2 separate regions of the Homo sapiens genome follow, and region 1 is linked to region 2. The links are contacts of gene promoters, found by promoter capture Hi-C in human tissues and cell types (Jung and others, 2019). All regions are on one chromosome and are shown on one strand. The core of a region is centred on a gene start or on the middle of the fragment in contact, and the rest is flanking DNA. Distances in the headings are between cores, read along the strand shown. Region 1 overlaps LOC105369421 (a long non-coding RNA gene). Region 2 holds the start of TMEM126A (transmembrane protein 126A).

The links. The method cuts DNA at HindIII sites, captures the fragments that hold promoters and counts their contacts. A contact is called where the count stands out against the background at its distance.
Region 1: a fragment that was not itself captured here is called in contact with the fragment with the promoter of TMEM126A in region 2 in 1 of the 25 tissues and cell types used here (H1 embryonic stem cells).

What each region holds. Positions count from the first base shown.
Region 1 is chr11:86,355,426-86,359,892 of GRCh38, reverse strand. The region is part of intron 3 of LOC105369421 (a long non-coding RNA gene); the gene reads left to right. Among named protein-coding and RNA genes, the nearest start is that of CCDC81, 17 kb to the left of the region's middle. RefSeq lists an enhancer at 2,710-3,244. The HindIII fragment of the contact is 4,712 bases long and covers 1-3,944 here.
Region 2 is chr11:85,644,866-85,649,327 of GRCh38, reverse strand. It overlaps TMEM126A (transmembrane protein 126A), which reads right to left and starts at 1,361. Exons shown (of 5, transcript NM_032273.4): 1 at 1,239-1,361. RefSeq lists enhancers at 1,111-1,380, 1,551-1,600. The HindIII fragment of the contact is 9,993 bases long and covers 1-4,462 here.

The sequences.
Region 1 (4,467 bases), core at 339-2,838, 710 kb before region 2:
AAATATCCAACTAGTGTGGTGGCATAAAAGGAGACTATCCACCCCTCCACCCCATTATCAGAGAATAAACTTGAGGATTAAAGAGAAACATTTAAATCCTAGCTTTAGTTAACCAGGTTGCTTAAGTAGAGCCATGTGCCGTTAATGTGAGGGTCCTTTGAAATGGAAACCAGAAAAAGGAAAGGACAAATGTCAATAGGAAGATTAGATGTTTCTAATGTAGATTAGATTGCAGAGTGATGGAACGAAAATTAATCCTCAATTAATCCTCATAATGGCACATTGATTTGTGGTACTTTAGGGGGAAACCAGCTGCAGCTGGAAAGCACTCAGTGGACTCCCCCTGTTCTTCAGTCTTTACAGAATCTCTCTCCCTGAAGAGACAAATGGAGACAAAAAAGCAGAAAGAATACATGTGTACATCCAGTGGCTATATTAAGCAAGAAAATCTATGAAATGCAAAAGAAACTAGGGGCTGAAACTTTATTCGGAGGGCTAAAGGGTGGTTTGTGTAAAAGAAACGGAGAATTGCTCCTGAGATAGCCTGTCATCTGATGGCTTATGAGGTGAGGTTCTGCCTTCCTCTTGCTTAGAGGTGGGGAGAGACTAGACCAAAAGCTGAATGCCTGATCTCTGCCTATGGACTCCAAGTGACTCAGGAATGTTCACTTGACTCTTTAGTAAAGAACAGCTTGAAGCTCTATAAAGGTCTAGTTTGTACACAGAGAAAACAACCTATTTGGATCAGGGAAGCAGAACCCCACTCCATATGGCTGCTGACTGGCCTCCCCCTCACTGTGGCTCACTATAGAGGAGAAGTGTCAGTAGCTGGAGAGATTGTAAGGCTGATTCCCTTTCTGACTCCCTGGGATATCCCTTTCTCAGAAATACAGAGAAACTGTCAACGAAAGAGTTGACACTAGAAAATAAGTAGGGCATACCCAAGGGCATACTCAGTCACTGTGTCAGAGGCGTTTGAACCAGAGTGACTCCATTTTGAGTGAGGGCTAGGAAAATAAGACTGGGACTTGCTGGGCTGCATTCTCAGAAAATGAGGCATTCCTAGCCTCTAAATGTTTACGGTTAAGGGAACAAATTAATAATGTTTCCTAAACAGACCCAGACTTGGGAGTGTCCAGATATCCTGATATCTGGAGAAGAAAGGCATTCCTGATTTTGCTTTAAAGATAATAGTATCAATTCTTGCAAAATATAGTAATTAAGAAAATTAATCCTTTATCACAAACCCTTGTAGCAGAGCACATCTCCCCGTATATACAAGCATTGTACCTAGGGTGGACGCATTCCTCTTCTGACTTTCAGGAACGTCCTACTCTTATCAATGGAGTAGCTGTTCTTTCACCACTTTATTTTCTTAATAAACTTGCTTTTACTTTGCACTGTGGACTCGCCCTGAATTCTTTCTTGCATGATATCCAAGAACCCTCTCTTGGGGTCTGGATTGGGACCCCTCTCCTGTAACAACTGGTCCTCACTTCAATGCTTTATTGGACTGCTTTTGTTATTTGAGGCTTGAGGGTGTTAGCAAAAAAAAAGTCCAACTCTGTGAAATATTTGACGTGGTTTATTCTAAGCCAAATATGAGTGTCATGGCCTGTGACACAGCCTCAGGAGGTCCTGAGAACATGTGCCCAAGGTGGTTGGATTATAGCTTGGTTTTATACATTTTAGAGAGACAGAAGTTATAGGCAAAGACATAAATCAATACATGTAAGGTATAAAAGGCAGGATATCTTGAAGCAGAGAGTGGGGGATGTGGGTGGAGGAGTTCTTCCAGGTCATAGATGCATTCAAAGATTTTCTGATTGACGATTAAAAGGATTAAGCTTTGCTTGAGAAATGGAAGTCGACATAAAGAAATGCTTAAGATAAGGGGGGTTGTGGAAGCCAAGGTTCTTTTTATTTTATTTATTTATTTATTTATTTATTTTGAGACAAAGTCTCTCTCTGTTGCCCAAGCTGGCATGCAGTGGTGCAATCTCGGCTCACTGTAACCTCCGCCTCCCAGGTTCAAGCGATTCTCCTGCCTCAGCCTCCCAAGTAGCTGGAACTACAGGCACACACCACCATGCCTGGCTAATTTTTGTATTTTTTAGTAGAGACAGGGTTTCACTATGTTGGCCAGGCTGGTCTTGAGCTCCTGACCTCGTGATCAACCTGCTTTGGCCTCCCAAAGTGCTGGGATTACAAGCACGAGCTACCTCACCACCTGGAAGCCAAGGTTCTTGTTATGTAGATGAAGCCTGTAAGTAACAGGCTTCTGGGAGAATAGATAATAAATGTCTGTCAGACCTTAAAAGGTATTAAATCTCTCCTGGATTAGGAAAAGACTTGTAAAGAGAAGGGGATTCTCTAAAGAATGCAAATTTCCCCCACAGGAGACAGCTTTGCAGGGCCATTCCAAAATACGTCAAAGAAATATATTTTGGGATAAAATACTTTGATTTCCTTTAGGGCCGCTGTCATGTGATGTTATACCAGAGTCAGGCTGGAGTTGGGTATCTTATTACTAACAACAGTCTGTTTTATCAATCTTATGATTTCTGTTTTAATGTTAATGCTGGTCAGTTGTGCCTTAACTCCAAAGGGAGGAGGGCATAACAAAGCATGTCTGGCCTCAACCTCCACTTCCCATCATGGCCTTAACAAGTTTTTTATTTGGGATCCCCTTGGCCAAAAGGAGTCCATTCAGTAAGCTGAGTGGCTTAGAATTTTATTTTTGGTTTACAAGGGTATTATTACAGGAAAGGGGTCTGGATCCAGACCCCAAGAGAGGGTTCTTGGATCTCCCACAAGAAAGAATTCAAGGCGAGCCCATAAAGTGAAAGCAAGTTTATGAGGAAAGTAAAGGAATAAAAGAATCTCTGCTCCACAGACAGAGCAGCCCTGAGGGCTGCTGGTTGCCCATTTTTATGGTTATTTCTTGATGATATGCTAAACAAGGGGTGGATTATCCATGCCTCCCATTTTTAGACCATATATGGTAACTTCCTGATGTTGCCATGGCATGACATTGTCATGGTACTGGTGGGATTGCAGCAGTGAGGACAACCAGAGGTGACTCTCATTGCCATCTTGGTTTTGGTGGGTTTTAGCAAGCTTCTTTAGTGCAACCTATTTTATCAGCAAGGTCTTTATGACCTGTATCTTGTGCTGACCTCCTATCTCATCCTGGGACTAAGAATGCCTTAACCATCTGGGAATGCAGCCCCACTTTGCCTAGTTCCTATTTAAGATGGAGTTGCTGTGGTTCACATGCCTCTGACAGCATCAAACATTTGTTGGGACTGAACCTCAGTGCTCAATTAGGTATTTGATGAAGTTCTTGAAAAGAGGAGATTAAAGAAAAAACCTACAGAACTAAAACTGGTAATGGATTCTCTGGGTCAGGCTCTAACAAAATAATCAGTTGTGGCCAGGCACAGTGGCTCATGCCTGTAATCCCAGCACTTTGGGAGGCTGAGGCAAGTGGATCACTTAAGGTCAGGAGTTTGAGACCAGCCTGGCCAACATGTTGAAACCCTGTCTCTACTAATACAACAAAAATTAGTTGGGCGTGGTAGCACACACCTGTAATCCCAGCTACTTGGGAGGCTGAGGCAGGAGAATCCCTTGAACCTGGGAGGCGGAAGTTGCAGTGAGCTGAGATTGCATGACTGCACTCCAGCCTGGACAACAGAGCAAGACCCCATCTCAAAAACAAACAAATAATCAGTTGTGACAAAATAGTCAGTTGTCATTTGGGCTTGTCATTATTGAGAATAATCATTATCACATAAGCAAACCATTTTGTTACAGTGACGAATCCATACAGGTCTGCAGCAACCTCAGCTCTTGCCTCCTCAGAAGAAAGAATTTGACTGAGGGGCATGAAGTAGAAGGAGAAACCAAGGCAAGTTTTAGAGCAGGAGTGGAAGCTTATTACAAAGCTTTAGAGCAAGAACAAAAGAAAGGAAAGTACACTTGGCAGAGGGCCAAATGGGCAACTTGAAGGAAGGACCTTTTGACTTGGGGTTTTATATGCTGGCATACGTTCAGGGTCTTGCATCCCCTCTCCCCTGATTCTTCCCTTGGGGTGGGTTGCCTGCATACACAGTGGCCTGCCAGCACTTGGGAGGTGAGAATGCGCAGTGTGCATATTGGAGCTGTATGCATGCTCACCTGAGGCTTTCTTCCCTTTACTGATGGAATGCCCCCAGAAGGTCATATACCAGTTAAACCCTGCCATTTCACCTCTCAGTGCACATACTTGAGCCCGTTTGCCCAACTCCTGAGATCCTACTGGGAAGCTACTGATCACCATTTTCAGTTTTTTTCTATCTATAGGGAGACTGACTTTCCCTGGTGCTGGCTGTGACCAATTATTATTTCAGAGAGACAGTTAATAACCCCTTGACCATCAGCTCGTGGTTGCCTGACATGCTTGGTCAGGCGACGCCCTCTCCT
Region 2 (4,462 bases), core at 112-2,611:
TGATGTCTGCACTAGTTAGGGTGAAAATGTGAAGGGAATGGTGAATGATGAAGATTTGGCTCAGGTTTCAGGGTAACAGTTAAGAAAAACAAAGGCTGGATGCAGTGGCTCACGCCTGTAATCCCAGCACCTTGGGAGGCCAAGGCAGACGGATCACCTGAGGTCAGGAGTTCGAGACCAGCCTGGCCAACATGGTGAAACTCCCTGTCTTTTAAAAATACAAAAATTAGCCAGGCACGGCGGCAGCTGCCTGTAATCCCAGCTACTCGGGAGGCTGAGGCAGGAGAATCGCTTGAACCTGGGAGGTGGAGGTTGCAGTGTGCCGAGATCTCGCCACTGCACTCCAGCCTGGGTGAGAGCGAGACTCGGTCTACAAAAAAAAAAAAAAAAACAGTTCAGGGATAACAACAAAGGAAAACATGCTTTTATGAAACCAGATTTTCTCATTTCCTACAACATTACAGGCACTCGTTTAAATATTTATTGCTACCTGTTTTATATCGATAAGAGGTCATTTGGAAATGTTGATTACCTTGACATTCCATATCTCTAGACTTAAAGCTAACCTAATAAGTACAAAGCAGCCTTAGAAATTTATGTCTAGGTTTCTGGTAGTCAAATTTTTGAGGGCCTTGGCTACGATAAGATGATAAGACACAATCTCTGCTGTACAGGAGCTCTGAATGATTTTGTGTATGGGGTGGTGAAATATATAATCAAATTTAGTATGTATATATTGTACTGAGGGCAATTAAGTCACTCAATTCAGTATAAGTGCTGACTGGGCAGCCCCTGTGGGCATTTTGTCTCCGATATTAATAACAAATATCTATCAAAGACAACGCCGCCTGTAAAAACTACAAATATTTCGAAAGATTTTTGTGTTACCTATCTCATGTCATTCTTGGAAGAGCTCTGAGAGATAGGCAGTGTGGGGCCTATCTGAAAGAGAAGTAAAGTGGGACCTCTGAAAATCAAATTTGGCCGTGGTCACCTTGTAAATTGACAGTAAACCTGGGATTAAATTCAATCTCAGGCATTTCTCCTTTCTACTGAGTTAATTTAAATATAAGGTCTTTCCTTCTAGAGTGCAAAGTGAAAAGACAGCAGGAAGAGCTAACTACACTTCTACTTGCTCTCATTTACGCGCAGCGCTGCTGGTAGCTAGCGTGTCACCGCGTCGTGCTTCTCCTGACACCGGGACATTTACTTCACCCCCTCCCCCGGAATACCAGTACCTTATGCTCTCCTCCCAGCAGCCTGTGGGTGCCTCCTCCTTCCTCAGCCACGCCGGAGTTCACTGTGGCCTTTGCTCAAATTACCTGGGCGCAGCCATCTTTGGCTGACTCGTGACGCGGCGTGGGCGGGCGCCGGGTCGCGGCTGCTAATTGGACTGCGGGACGGAGGTTGCAGCCAGCAGCGGCTTTGGGCTGAGAAGCTTCCGGCCCTAGGAGGTGCCGGGAGGCTAAGCGTTGAGGTTTGTTTGCCTGGCGTAGAGTGTGCTCGTTTCACCTACTCTTGCCTCCCAGGACAGAACTTGTAGAAATTGTGAAATTTCGAGATATAAGTTGGGTGACCCTCAGTCAGCCTCTTCCATTGAAAACGTACCTCGGGCATATTACTTAACTTCCTGGTCAGTAGAGCCTACTTACGTTCTTGGCATGGGGTAAATGAAAACTGCACAGCTCTTGGCATATGATAGCTACTCAGGTTAAAAATAAGTCAAAGGTGAGCTATTTCTTGGCTCTATCGATTTTCTACTCTCCCTAGGAACTTAAGCTCCCTGTGCCATGTTTTGATCTGTATTGATTGCCCTACCATAATCAGCACCTCAGAGCTGCAGCTTATTTTTCTGAGGATTTCTCGTGTTCTCCAGAGTACTGCTTATTTGGAAGCAGTGTTGGGTGAAAGTCATCTTATTTCTTCTTGCTTTTTAAGTATAAATACTAGAAAATTTAGAATTATATATGTGGCTTGCATTATATTTCTATTGGACAGTGCTGTTCAGAAGGTACCTCTAATGCTCTCCTCCCAGCAGCCAGTGGATGCCTCACCAGGTCTTCCTCAGCCATGCTGGGGCTCCCTGCAACCTTTGCTCAGTTCGCTTGGACTAATTAACCCAATAGAAGGGAAAAATGCCTACAATTGAATTTTATCTTAACTCCATTAAGATTAGCAGGTAAACATTGTGCCAAAAAATATATAACTAACTGTAGCAATAAATACATGATCATAACACATTATCAGAAATCTTAATTATTCTCATCCTCTCAAATTTCTGAACAAGTGATAAAGTGTTGCATTGTCCAGATAATTTTTATACTGTCTCTCCATTGCAGGGTTGCTTGACCATTAGGCTCCATAGTGCCAAGAAGTCTGTAATTGCAGTTTCTAAACTTGCACAAATAGAAAGACTTATTTTCACGAAGGTGTACAAGAAGGAAAATTCCTAGTCTTTTTTTTATTTTTATTTTTTATTTTTTAGACAGAGTTTTGCTCTCGTCGGCCAGGCTGGAGTGCAATGGCCTGATCTCAGCTCATTGCAACTTCTGCCTTCCAGGTTCAAGCGATTCTCCTGCTTCAGCCTCCAGAGTAGCTGGGATTACAGGCGTGTGCCACCACGCCCAGCTGATCAGCTGATTTTTTTTTTTGTTTTTGAGACTGAGTCTCGTTCTGTCACCCAGGCTGGAGTGTAGTGGTGTGATTTCGGCTCACTGCAAGCCCCGCCTCCTGGGTTCACAGCATTCTCCTGCCTCAGCCTCCCAAGTAGCTGGGACTACAGGCTCCTGCCACCACGCCTGGCTAATTTTTTTGTATTTCTAGTAGAGACGGGGTTTCACTGTGTTAGCCGGGATGGTCTCTATCTCCTGACCTCGTGATCCACCCGCCTCGGCCTCCCAAAGTGCTGGGATAACAGGCGTGAGCCACCGTGCCCAGCCTCGGCTTATTTTTTAGTAAAGACAGGATTTCACCACGTTAGCCAGGCTGGTCTCGAACTCCTGACCTCAGGTGATCCACCCGCCTCGGTCTCCCAAAGTGCAGGGATTACAGGCGTGAACCAGCGTGCCTGGTCATCTAGTCTTTTACTCACTTTGCTTTTCATCTCAAGGTTTTAAGCAAACAAATCACAATATTCTGCTTACTACCTTTGCCTTAATGGAATTTCACTAGGCCTTCTCTGTAACTGTCTGTGTTTCCTAATTATGTAGAAACTATAAACCACCATCTTGTAGAGAATAATGGCCAATAAGGTTGAAAAGTTAAAAAAAAAAAAAAAAAAGAGCCAGAGTGTGGAATACTTCAAATGCCAGACTAAGAATTTGCTCCCTTTTGTTTGCTTTATTTTCTGGGAAACGTTAGTTATTAAAAATGGGAGTTAAAAAATTCATAGTTACACTATGATAAGATGCATATGATGTAGAAAAAAATGGAGGCAATACTGCAGATGGAGATTAGATAGGTGCCTCTAAATAAAAATCTCAAGGACATCTCATACTCCAAAGCTGAAAATCGTATATGTTTTCCTCTCTTATATCTACTGTTTCCTGTCTCAGGGCTTGACAACACCATCCATTTCATTGCACAAGCCAGAAACTTAAGTTCATCCACATTACTCCCTGCAGACTAATCAATCGTGAACAATTTATTGATTTTCTTCCTAGATATTCTTTACAGAAATCATTTCTTATTTAGGCACTGGAGGTGACTCTGTTCTCACAGATTCCACTCATCTTCCTTTCAGCAATTCTCTACATAGCATCTATGAAAATTTTTGTCAGACAATTTAGCTGAACTTGGGCTGTGCATGGAAGAGAGGGGATAGAAATGTAGCCAGAAATCTGCAATGTCTATGATGCTTGCACCAGACAACCGTAAGCTCTTTTTGGAAACAGGAAATAAAGAACAATTTGTCAAAGCATATTTTTCTGTCACTAAAAATACATGCCATTCTTTTGATTTTAAAAGTTTTGAGAAATGCCGAAAGAGAAAAGATAATTTAGTTTCTTATAGCTTGTCTGAACTCTCTAACAACAGAATATTGGCACATAAAATAGTTAATAAAAGAAAATGGAATTTGACCACTTGTCACTACCTTTATTGCTACTACTTATTATCTCTTACCTAGACTGTCTATAAAATCCTGTGTCACACAGAAAAATTGCTGGGATATGGCTTTGACTTAAATGCTGCATGAATCTGCTGAAAATAGTTGATCCAGGAAGATTCCATACTTTTCAAAGATAATAATCAAAAAATAAAAGAGGGACTTCTAGCTTCTGGAAGTGACACAGTAGCTTATGTTGGACAGACCCTGTTGCAAATAACAACTATAAACTCTGGACAAGGAAGAGATTCTTTTCAAAGACCCTGGAAAGCAACCAAAATAGCATGAAAACACAGGAAGGTATACAATTCTTGAAAGATGGGAAAAATAGTGGGTAAGATCCACATTTATCCAGCT